Linked DNA regions of Homo sapiens: regions 1 and 2 are each linked to region 3. Evidence: promoter capture Hi-C in human tissues and cell types (Jung and others, 2019). All regions are on one chromosome and are shown on one strand. The core of a region is centred on a gene start or on the middle of the fragment in contact, and the rest is flanking DNA. Distances in the headings are between cores, read along the strand shown. Region 1 overlaps CCDC25 (coiled-coil domain containing 25). Region 2 overlaps ESCO2 (establishment of sister chromatid cohesion N-acetyltransferase 2). Region 3 holds the start of EPHX2 (epoxide hydrolase 2).

The links. The method cuts DNA at HindIII sites, captures the fragments that hold promoters and counts their contacts. A contact is called where the count stands out against the background at its distance.
Region 1: a fragment that was not itself captured here is called in contact with the fragment with the promoter of EPHX2 in region 3 in 1 of the 25 tissues and cell types used here (hippocampus).
Region 2: a fragment that was not itself captured here is called in contact with the fragment with the promoter of EPHX2 in region 3 in 1 of the 25 tissues and cell types used here (dorsolateral prefrontal cortex).

What each region holds. Positions count from the first base shown.
Region 1 is chr8:27,761,523-27,765,444 of GRCh38, reverse strand. It overlaps CCDC25 (coiled-coil domain containing 25), which reads left to right. Exons shown (of 9, transcript NM_018246.3): 2 at 194-241; 3 at 2,987-3,026. Among named protein-coding and RNA genes, the nearest start is that of CCDC25, 9.2 kb to the left of the region's middle. The HindIII fragment of the contact is 3,611 bases long and covers 228-3,838 here.
Region 2 is chr8:27,778,878-27,782,951 of GRCh38, reverse strand. ESCO2 (establishment of sister chromatid cohesion N-acetyltransferase 2) reads right to left here. Exons shown (of 11, transcript NM_001017420.3): 4 at 2,685-2,778. Among named protein-coding and RNA genes, the nearest start is that of ESCO2, 6.4 kb to the right of the region's middle. The HindIII fragment of the contact is 3,612 bases long and covers 1-3,282 here.
Region 3 is chr8:27,489,569-27,493,737 of GRCh38, reverse strand. It overlaps EPHX2 (epoxide hydrolase 2), which reads right to left and starts at 2,595. Exons shown (of 19, transcript NM_001979.6): 1 at 2,429-2,595. The coding sequence starts at 2,529. RefSeq lists a silencer at 2,512-2,791. The HindIII fragment of the contact is 8,102 bases long and covers 2,205-4,169 here.

The sequences.
Region 1 (3,922 bases), core at 784-3,283, 270 kb before region 3:
TTTTTCCAACCCTTTAAAAACGTAAAAACCATTCTTAGCTCAAGGGCTGTCCAAAAACAGGTGGTAGGCTGGATTTGGATCATGGGCCATGGTTTGCCAGCCCCTAGTCTAAGAATTGTCACTTGTTTTTCACATGAAACAATTTTGTTGGTGATGAAGTTACTAATTGTTTTTTATTTTTGTTTTATCTTAGTTAATTCATCTGCCTACACTATTTACATGGGAAAAGATAAATATGAAAGTAAGTTTTCAAAAGCATTTGATTTTGAAATTTTCAGCAGGTAAGTGTTATCTCTCACTCACCACCTTCCATGCCCCCCACCCAGTTTGTTGGTTCTGAGTTTTCACCTACTTTGATAAACTAGCTTTTGAGAAACAGAACAAGCTCACATAGGGAGACAGCAGCACCTCCTAAGCTACATAAGAAAAATGCTTTAACTATCAATGTTACTTGTGATGATTTATGGGTTAGTAGGAGAAATGTAAAACTCAAGTGTTAATATGCTGCAGACTGCTTCACCATTAAATCACACCCAAAGTTAATGTCACAACTTTATTATCATGAAAAAGTACTAAGGTCTATTTTTTAAAAAGTATAGACAAAATGAAGTAACATGAATAGTAAATGCTGTCGAAGTAGACAGATCAGAGATAGTAAATGTGATTGAAAGCTGAGAAGGCTTTGTGGAGGAGTGGGTTAGGATGGACTAGATTGTGGAATCCTTTGAATGTCTATTGTAGGAATATATAGATACAAATCTAGATACATAATTTATGTCACAGATATAAATTTAGATGATATTTTTAGAGCCCTCTGGAGTGGCATTTTGCTGTCATTAAAAACCTTTGTAGAAAAAAACGTAAGAGGCCAGGCATGGTGGTTCACGCCTGTAATCCCAACACTTTGACAGGCTGAGGCGAGAGGATCACTTGAGCCCAGGAGTTCGAGACCTGCCTGAGCAACATAGGGAGACCCTGTCTCTACAAAAAACAACAATAAAAGAAAATATTAGCTGGGCATAGTGACACACACCTGTTGTCCTTGCTACTCTGGAGGCTGAGGCAGGAAGATCGCTTGAGCCTGGGAGGTAGGCTGCAGTGAGCTGTGATCATGCCACTGCATTCCAGCTTAAGAGACAGCGAGAATCTGTTGTCTGAAGTAAGTGAATGTATGTATGTATGGAACACTTTTTCCCTGGGAACTCTTAGAGTCATTTGGAGGTATCAACTTTTCCTAGGTTGCCTTGTAAGAACGGACATTACTTCTCTAAATCACCCCATTGTCTGGCATTCCTAGCCCATTACATTTATTTCTAATAGTGTTTATGACTTCAGACCAAGAACTCGATAGAAACATCAATTTAAGTGGAATGATTTACTTTCACTGAAAAGCTTTCAGGTCTGTTCTTTTTATCAGCCAGCAGGTGTCATCAGGGAGCCAAACTTTGCCTGACTGAGGGAAAGAGATTTTTTAAATTTCTCTTTCCTTTTTTTGCTTACCTTTTGGCTATTTGCTCAGTCCTACTTAAAGCATTAGAAAGCCTTTCAGAAAACTCATAGTGTCTACGACTGTTATGAGTGCCTTTACCCAAGATGTGTCTTCCTTTTGCTTTTCCTTTTCTGGATGGTAAATACCCCATTCAAATTATATAGACCATACTTTCTTGGGTACATTTTAAATCATCACATATGAATCATTCACAATTTATTTATTTATTTATTTATTTGAGACAGTTTCCCACTCTGTCACCCAGGCTGGAGTGCAGTGGCGTGATTTCAGCTCACTGCAACCTTCACCTCCTGGATTCAAGCAATTCTCCCACCTCAGCCTCCCGAGTGGCTGGGGCTACAGGCACGTGCTACCATGCCTGGCTAATTTCTGTAATTTTAGTGGAGATGGGGTTTCACCATGTTGGCCAAGCTGGTCTCAAACTCCTGACCTCAGGTGATCTGCTCGCCTCAGCCTCCCAAAGTGCTGGGATTACAGGCGTAAGCCACTGTGCCCAGTATTGTTTATGATTTTTAAATTGGCATTTAATACTTAAATAATTCTGTATTAAACAGAATTATTACTAATTATTAATATGGCTGTAGAAATATTTATTGATATAACCTTTATGTAGTGATATATATTAGCCTTAAAAAATGTGCATTCACTTTGAGCGAATACTTTAGCTTTTAGAAATATACCTTAAGGAAATAATCAGAAATATGGACAACTTTACTTAAAAAATTTATTGAACCATTTATAATTAGAAACAAACCAAGGGCCAACAATAGAAAAGTTTATTCATATAAGAGAATTAGGTAGTCATTGTTCCCAAAGAACTTTATTTTTATTTGTATCTAACAAATACATAGTTTAAAAAGTCAAGTAGTAATAGAATGCTTAGAATTAAAAAAAGAATCCTTCTTAATACCCATGTTCCACCCCACCTGCTACCTCCCCAGACAATTACTTTTCACTCTGTTAGCTATTTCTTCTGGTGTTTTATTTCCATGTGTGATAGAATTTAAGGTGATTTTTATTTTCTTTTTATACTTCTAATGTTTGTTTTGTTTTAAATTTTCTGTAATTTTATAATCAAGTTAATTTTTCTTAAAGAAGTAAAATATTTCTTTAAAGTTTCAGCCAGTTCTTTTTAATGTTTAAGTATTATTAGGTGAATTGATTATCTGAAACATCTGAACTATTGGTTGCTTTGTTTTGTCAGTGTTAGTTTTATTATCTTCATATAGAAATAATATCTGAGCTTTAGATTAGAAGTATTATATAAATTTATAAAAATTATAAAGTTCATATTGTTCAATTATGAAAATTATTATTTTTTCTGTATTTTCAAGCATCAAGGCCTCCGAATTACTCTTCTTCATTGAGGGAGAGAGAAATTTGTGGGAGGAGCTGACATTTCTCCCATTCTTATAAACCCTGGCATATCTTCATTTGACAGTTTTTGTTTCTTTCGTTTCTCATATCTCATTGCAGATGAAGATCTGATCAAGCATGGCTGGCCTGAAGATATCTGGTAAGTAACAATTTTGGTTCTGCCCTCTGTAGATCATCATTTCCTTTCTTAGACTTGGCCAAGCATTCAAACTAGAATCATGCTTTGTACTGTGGTTTATGGGTCTTCAGGGTTAAACAGCTGACTGCCAGTTCCTTCATTTCTAATTACCTTGCAAGTTGGAAATGATGTTTTTGGGTTTGATCTCAGGCTTGAGAGCAAAGGCCTCTAGGACACAGGCCTTCTTTTTCCTCCTTTTTGTCTCCACGCCATAGTAAGTTACTGAGACCACACCTCACTTAAATATTCAGACCACTGTTCTTGAGTGGAAAAATGAAGACTTCACATGAAGCAATGAAGAAAATAGATACAAGCATCCATGCGGATGGAATAGACGGAGGTTCTTACTGGTCCAGCTTTAAAGGAAGCACACTTGTTCCCCTTTGTCTTCTAAACTCCCTGATGAGTTTAGCTCTGTCTTGATCCAACCCCGACGCCTTCTTTCTAAAACAATTTATGTGAACTGTTTTAAATAATAACATATACTTTCTTAGTCTCCTTTTGAGATCATTTATTTTGCTCACAAAACCCAGTCCAAAAAAAAAGAATACCAAACAAACAAAAAGACTTCATTTAAGCTGAATTCTTTTCTCTGTCTTAGAACACCATATAGACTTCTACCATTCAGACCTGGGGCCTTTTATGAATACATGGGCTTCTGTCCTATAACACTGTCACACCCAGTCTACTTTCGTTTTCTTCATCTTCAGCTTCCACCACTGACTCTGACCCTAGTATTGCCTCTCTTCTAGAGCACAGTCCTGCCTATGGAGTGGGATATCATCTTCCTGACTCCTCATACCTCCTACCAAATGCTATCCCTGAAGATAAAGGCACCTGGGTCCCGTTTGCTTTAT
Region 2 (4,074 bases), core at 227-2,726, 290 kb before region 3:
GCCTAAGATGGAATGCAGACTGTGAGAAATGAATCTAACTATATTAGAACTGTATAGCATAACGACACTGAAGGAGGTAGGGGGAAAAAGAGAAGCTGTCCTAAGTAACTTTAGCAAATGGTGTTTTGACTAGAAGTTATAAGGATAAAGACAAAAAGATTGCACTTAAAATTGCACTCTAGGCCGAGTGCAGTGGCTCACGCCTGTCATCCTAAAAAATATATTATTTAATATATATATATTATTTAACTATATATGGAATTCTACAAAGGGAAAAAATTGAAAATATATCACATTTAGAGAAGAATGGCATGAGCTGATATAGGATTCCACAAAAGCTTACTTCAGCAATAATTACATATAGAAAAAGAGACTGAATTAGATAAGATTCATCTCAACCTCAACATGAACTATGAGATGAAAGGTAAGGGAGGCCAAGGCGGGTGGATCATCTGAGGTCAGGAGTTTGAGACCACCCTGCCCAACGTGGCGAAACCCCGTCTCTACTAAAAATACAAAAAAATTAGCCGGGCATGGTGGCAGACACCTGTAATGCCAGCTACTTGGGAGGCTGAGGTAAGAGAATCGCTAGAACCCTGGGGGCAGAGGTTGCAGTGAGCTGAGATTACGCCATTGCACTCCAGCCTGGGTGAGAGTGAGCCTCTGTCTCAAAGAGAAAAAAATTGCACTCTAATTGGTTATTTCTCACAGGGGTATGAATTAACAATTATGAAACTGTTTTACATGTTTACTGGGACAGAACAAATAAGTAGATGGATAGTGAATAGTAGGAACTAAGTGTCTCACTGTCCGAGAAGGAAGTTACAGATGAAAAAAGGATAGAATAAATCCTGGAGTACTGGATTAGAGTTGGAAATATCAACGTCCAGCTGGCAATATGCAAACAAAGAAATAAGACAGAAAATGTCACAGATAAGACTAAAGACACATGACAATTAAACGTAATATAGTACCTTGGAATGGATACTGGGACAGAAAGAAAACATTAATAGAAGATTCCAAATAAAGTTTAGAGTTTAGTTAACAGTAATATACCACTACCAATATTTGGTGAACTCCAAATAAAGTCTAGTGCTTAGGGCCAGGCACAAGGGCTTATGCCTGTAATCCCAGCACTCTGGGAGGCTGAAGTGGGGGGATCACTTGAGGTCAGGAGTTTGAGACCAGCATGGCCAACATGGTGAAACCCCATCTTAACAAAAATTAGCCGGGCATGGTGGTGGATGCCTGTAATCCCAGCTACTTGGGAGGCTGAGGCGGGAGAAATGCTTGAACCCTGGAGGTGGAGGCTGCAGTGAGCCAAGATGGTGCCACTGCACTCCAGCCTGAGCAACACAGTGAAACTCCATCTCAAAAAAAAAAAAAAAAAGTCTATACCAATACAAGTTTCTTAGTTTTGACAAAAGTATTATAACATAAGATGTTAAGAATGGAGGAAACAGGGTAAGAGATACACTGCTACTCTCTGTACTTTAACTTTTCTGTAAATCTAAAATTATGGCAAAATAAAGTCTATTAAAAGAAAAGAGCAAAGTTAAAACAGCAATTGATTTGAGGAAAATAGTAAGCTGAGAGTGGGCTAAAAAAACAAACTTTAACTTTGCATTGAAAAATAATTAGAGCTCATCCTCTAGAAACAAGGCCAAGGCAGGTGAAAGTCTGAGCTGCTATTGGTAAGTTACTTAACCCAAGTCCATTTCCTCATCTATAAATGGGCATATCAGGACCTAGAGTAGTAGGGAGAATTAAATGATAAACTGTAGTTATTAAGTAATAAAGTTTTGGTCTTTTTATATTACTTTTATGATTTCTCCCATATCCTTATACCATTTGTATTATTTTTATTCACTATTTTTCTTTAAATTGACTTAGACAATGTACTAAAATATATTTTAAAAGAAAAATTTATAACTATTTTAAGTAGATGCCTTTTTGTTATATTTTCTATTGTATCAGTGCTTTGAGCACAATCTATGAAAAACATAACGTATACTAAATATTTAGCACTGCCTTATATTCAGCACTCAGTAAATACTAGTTATTAACATCATATCTCAGAATCATAAAAAAAAGCTTTATGTATTCATAGTTTAGTAAGCTATTTAATTGAACACTGACAGCATAAATTAGGAATAGGATTTCAGAATTGACAGGAATTTAAAAATTAACTTTAACTCTTTAGAGATATCTTCCTAGATCATACAGCTAATTATTAGTAAACCTAGACAAAAATCCATGGTTCTTGATGCTTAATTTCAGTGTCACTTATAAAACTTAGTAAGTTCTGCTCACAATTGGGCTTTGATCACAAATATACATAATAGTTTTAACTTCTATTATTTTGGGTGAAAGATAGAGTAGGTATGATTTTATAATGAGAACACTCAACTCTAGAGAGCTTAAGTAACTTGGCCACAGCCATAGACCAATTAAGCCTAATATTTTGTCTAAAATTTTAACCTAGGATCTCCTTGTTTCTTGTTTTTCAAAACGCAATGCACTGCTTTACTACAGAAAACAGTGTCACAGAGATAAACAAAGATACTAACCACAGGCACGCTACTGAAAAAAGAAAGACCCAGAAATTACAAGAATTATTATTGTATAATGTATGTAATAAAGCATTATTTTAAGCAGCTAAATTCATGCGAGTTTTCTCTTACTTGTCTTATTCTCACCAAGAGAATCCTCTGAAGAAAAAGCCTCATTTTTATCAACTTTATGTTCCTTTGAAGAAACTCTGTCATCTGATGAATCCTGAAAATAGGTTTAAAAAAAAAACCAAACATCTGTAATTTTTAACTATTTTCTAGTGAATGAATCCCAGCAGATCTATTTCTAAAACAAAAGATTTGGTTTATTATGAATTACATTTCATAATGTGATTTTCAATCAATTTTCAAACTATTTTTAGGAAAACTTCCCCTGTATTCACTAAGCGTACATTACCTTTAAAGCCAGAGTACAGCAGGGCCCGGTGGCTCATGCCTGTAATGCCAGCACTTTGGGAGGCCGAGGTGGGTAGATTGCGAGGTCAAGGGATTGAGACCATCCTGGCTAACATGGTGAAACCCTATCTCTACTAAAAATACAAAAATTAGCTGGGCGTGGTGGCACCTGCAGTCCCAGCTACTCGGGAGGCTGAGGCAGGAGAATTGCTTGAACCCAGGAGGCGGAGGTTGCAGTGAGCCAAGATCGTGCCACTGCACTCCAGCCTGGCAACAGAGCAAGACTGTCTCAAAAGAAAAAAAAGCCAGAGTACACGTGTTGTAATCTGTCATCCTCTCAAAAATGTGTTATACTTCCTGACAGAGATGGCAGAATGATTACAGACCATCACTTCCATAATGAAATGAACAAAAAAGCCAGTAAAAATGGCAAAAGTTTCCCCAGCAGCCACCAAACTGGAAAGGGACAACTTTTTGCCATAAACTTTAAAAATCAGCAGCTAAGGAAAGAACATTCTAGAGTCACTGGAGAGTAGCAGGAATGTGGGAAAAGCAAAGTAGAAAAAAATCCTGACAGATTTCCCTCATACTAATTTGGGAATTACTAGGGAATATATAGCTTGGGGAAAAAGGAAAAAAACTCTTGGTTAAAGTAGAACTTCTACTCAAAACCATAATATCCCAGCAGAGGTGGGATAACCCATCAGTTTAACACTTTTCAGGGCTCCATGAGTTGGGGAAAGGGTATCCTCACAAAAATCAGATTCACCGGCCAGGCGCGGTGGCTCACACTTGTAATACCAGCACTTTGGGTGGCCAAGGCAGGTGGATCACAAAGTCAGGAGTTCAAGACCAGCCTGGCTGAGAGGGTGAAACCCCGTTCCTACTAAAAATACAAAAATTAGCCAGGTGTGGTGGCCGGTGCCTACAATACCAGCTACTTGGGAGGCTGAGGCAGAGAATTGCTTGAACCTGGGAGGCGGAGGTTGCAGTGAGTTGAGATCATGCCACTGCACTCCAGCCTGGGCAACGGAGTGAGACTCCATCTCAAAATAAAAAAACAGAAAATCAGATTCGCCCTTAGCTAGCAGAGACGAATCCCAGA
Region 3 (4,169 bases), core at 1,346-3,845:
TTCTTATGTGGAACTTCAACCTATATCTGCCTCCCACCAGCTGGACAGGCACCTGCACCTTCTCCTAAGTCCCAACACTAACAATGCCACAGGAAATCAGACCCTATCAGTGCCCCTCAAAGCTCAAGTCTGTCAGCCCAGGACCATACAACTAATACCCCTACTTATAGGGCTAGGAATGCCCACTGCTACAGGAACCAGAATAGCCAGTTTAACTACTTCATTATCCTACTACCATACACTCTCAAAGGATTTCTCAGACAGTTTGCAATAAATAAATCTATCCTTACTCTACAATCCCAAATAGACTATTTGGCAACAGTGACTCTCCAAAACCGCTAAGGTCTAGACCTCCTCACTGCTGAGAAAGGAGGACTTTGCACCTTCTTAGGGGAGGAGTGTTGTTTTTAAACTAACCAGTCAGGGATAGTACAGGATGCTGCCTGGCATTTACAGGAAAAGGCTTCTGAAACCAGACAACACCTTTCAAATTCTTATACCAACCTCTGGAGTTGGGTGACTTGGCTTCTCCCCTTTCTAGGTCCCGTGACAGCCATCTTGCTATTACTCACCTTCAGTCCCTGTATTTTTAACCTCCTCCTCAAATTTGTTTCCTCCAGGATCAAGGCCATCAAGCTACAGATGGTCTTACAAATGGAACCCCAAATGAGCTTAACTCACAACTTCTACCGAGGACTGCTAGACTGACCCACTGGCCCTTTGACTGGCCTAGAGAGTTCCCCTCTGGAGGACACTACAACGGCAGGGCCCCTTCTTTGCCCCTATCCAGCAGGAAGTAGCTAGAGTGGTCATCACCCAGTTCCCAGTAGCAGGTGGGGTGTCCTGTTATGAGGGAGGATTGAGAGGTGAGGCCAGCTGGACTTCCTAGGTCGAGTGGGGACTTGGGGAACTTTCCTGTCTTACAAGAGAATTGTAAAATGCACCAATCAGCGCTCTGTAAAACGCACAATCAGCAGCATTCTAAAAGTAGCCAATCACGGGGAGGATTGAAAAAAGGGCACTCTGATAGGACAGAAATGGAACATGGGAGAGGACAATAAGGGAATAAAAGCTGGCCACCCCAGCCAGTAGCGGCAACCTGCTGGGGTCCCCTTCCATGCTGTGGAAGCTTTGTGCTTTCGCTGTTCACGATAAACCTTGCTATCACTCACTCTTTGGGTCTGCGCCATCTTTACGAGTGTAACACTCACTGCGAAGGTCCACAGCTCCATTCTTGAAGTCAGCAAGACCACGAACCCACCGACAGGAACCAACTCTGGACACAACTATAGCCTCCAACTCCTGGGCTCAGGCAATCCTTCTGCCTTAGCCTCCCAAGTAGCTGGGGCTACATGCATGCACTAATGTCTAGCTAATTTTATTTTTATTTTTGGAGAGACAGGGTCTTGCTCTTTCACCCAGGCTGGTCTTGAACTCTCAGCCTCAAGTGATCCTCCCACCTTAGCTTCCCAAAGCACAGAGATTACATGCCTTTCCCTCAAGCTACTTGCCATCTCATCTTCCTTACTATATTAAAAGCAAAGGCTCCGGACATGGACTACTGGGGTTGGATTTCTGGCTCTGCTCTTTAACAGCTATGTGATTTGGACAGCTGGTTTCTTTCTGTGCCTCAGTTTCCTCATATGTAAAAGGAGGATATGAACAATGGCTTCCATGCCTGGCCTTCTTTTTCACTTTATAAATAAGTATACTTCTCTCCTTTCTGAATGTGGGAATAATACATTGTTTATAAATTTAGAAGTTGGAAACTACAAAAAAAAAAAACACAAAAAAAAGAGAGAGAGAAAGAAAATCATTACATTATTCCTAATCTCATTTGATGTACTTTGGCCTATTTCTTTCAGGCACTTTTCTGCATGTACCTTTTTTCCATAGCTGAAACCATATTGTATAAATAGCTTCAGATTCTGGTGGGGTGGTTTTTTCATGTAGTAGAACAGGTGTTTTCCCAAGTCCCTGAGCTCTCACTCTGCACACCCCATCTACCATTTCCCAGTGATGTGGCTTTGGGCGGTTGCTGCAGTTTGCTATTACACAAGTAAGCATGCAACCCACACCTGGGGAGAGAACTTTCTTCTCTCCTGAATCTCGGCTCGCATCTTTAAGCGCCACCCCATTAGACAGGAGGCAGCAGAAGCACAAAGCTCCATGAGTAACTCCTCTCCCTTTTGGAAAAGTTCACAGAAAGCAATTTTGGAGACCTTGGCAACGTTTAATTATGAACATTTAGAAAGACAACGGATCTCCTCATATGCACTGGGACTTCAGGGCCAGGTCTTCAGTTTCATGATTCGCATGATTCGCAGGGCTCCGGCACAGGAGCAATCTGAAAGCTGGGCTGCAAGCCCAGCGCGGTCTGCCTCCTGAGGCCCCGACCCACTGCGGCGGCGGCGCTGGGCCCCCTTACCTGGGCAGCGCCAGGGCCTCCTCCGTGCGGCCGAGGACGCCGAACACCGCTGGCAGCGCCAGCACCCCGTCAAGGTCGAAGACGGCCGCGCGCAGCGTCATGGCGGCGGGTCTGCAGCCTAGCACCCGGACACGCAGCTAACCTGGGAGATGCGCGAAGGCCAGGGCGCATGACCCGCCCAGCTTGGCCCGGCTCTGCCCCGCCCCTGCCCTGGCCCCGCCTCCTCCCCACACCCCCTTAACGGGACTCCGCCCTCTGCCCGGGTTAAGGCTGGACTCTGGCCGGGAAAGAGGCAGGGGGAGGGGCACAGGAAAGGGAGTCAGAGGGAGAGGAAGAGGAGGCCGGGAAGGCGGGGACCCCAGGCTAGAATCTCGCCTCTGGATGTAACGCTTTCTACTGTCTCAAAGGAAAGTCCAAAGTCTCTTATGCCCCCTCCCCACGCCCCTGCAGTAGCTGCTTGAAGAGGCAAACCCAGGCCCGGGCCTTCCTGGACGGACTGACAGCTCCCTGCGAACTTGCTGGACTTGGAATGCCTGGGAAAGAGGCCACAGACTCTGTGTGTGTGTGTGTGTGTGTGTGTGTGTGTGTGTGTGTGTGTGTGTGTGTGTGTCAGCACATCCAGTGACTTCTACATTCAGAACATAAGACCGTGTTGGGGGGCGGGGGAGGGGCATATCCAGTGACTTTTCTAGATTCAGAACGAAGGATCACAGATCCCTCACTATCCTGACCACTCCTCTAGGCACGCTCTTCTTTGCCAAGGCAAATGTGTTTCTAGAATAAAATATGATGTTCCAGCTATCGTGTGCCAGCCCAGAATACTTCGATTTCAATCTCTTGTGGAATGAAGCTTAGAAGAACTAAATGTAGGCTATTATTTTCCTTTTGTACATGCTACTTGTAATAATTCTGTCTTAAAATGTGCGAGGTTTGTTTTTAATCACCGATTTCCACACTATTGGCTCGTTTATGTTCCTAGAAAAACTAAAACTTTGGCTGGGAGTTCTTGAGCTGTTGTAGTGCAGCTCCATGAATTAAAAACCGTGTCTTTGGTGGAGACCAAACAGAGTGAGTGAGGTCTCCAACAGTGGAGAATTTACTCTTGAATGTGTCTCTGTGGATTTATCCAAGATACCCTCCACCACGGAGCTTCAAGAACCTTGTGAGGGGTTGTCAGATACCTCACTGTAACTGGGAGGTCTACAACAGTCTCTGGATCTAGCAATCAACAACAGGATTGACCAGAGCCGTGGGTTTCCTCTGGGCTGTTTGCCCTTAGCAAGCTATGCTGTTGCTTCCTTCTCTAGCTTGGTAACCTCTTCCAGGCTCCTGCCTGGAGCAGTTATTAGTGTTTTCTGAGATTCTTGCCAAAGAAGCAGAGAGTGGCCAACACTGCCAAATGTTACAGGAAGAACTGAAAAAAAAGCTGTCCAATTTTGGACTTGGATGACACCGGATGTTTCAGAACACTTTTTGTGGGCCCTTTATGGTAGAAACTGGATTACTCTGGATTTGAAGACTGAAAGATAGGCAGAGAAGGGAGTACAGCAAGCTAGTTTCTCATGAAGTTAGTTGATCTCAAAGGTATAATTGAATTTTAAAAAATAGAAAGAAAATTGCAGCCTGACCTATATAGTATGAAACCTGTTAAATCTCCAGATTGGGCATGGTGGCACACACCTGTAATCCCAGCACTTTGGGGCTGAGGTGGGAGAATTGCTTGAGGCCAGGAGTTTGAGAC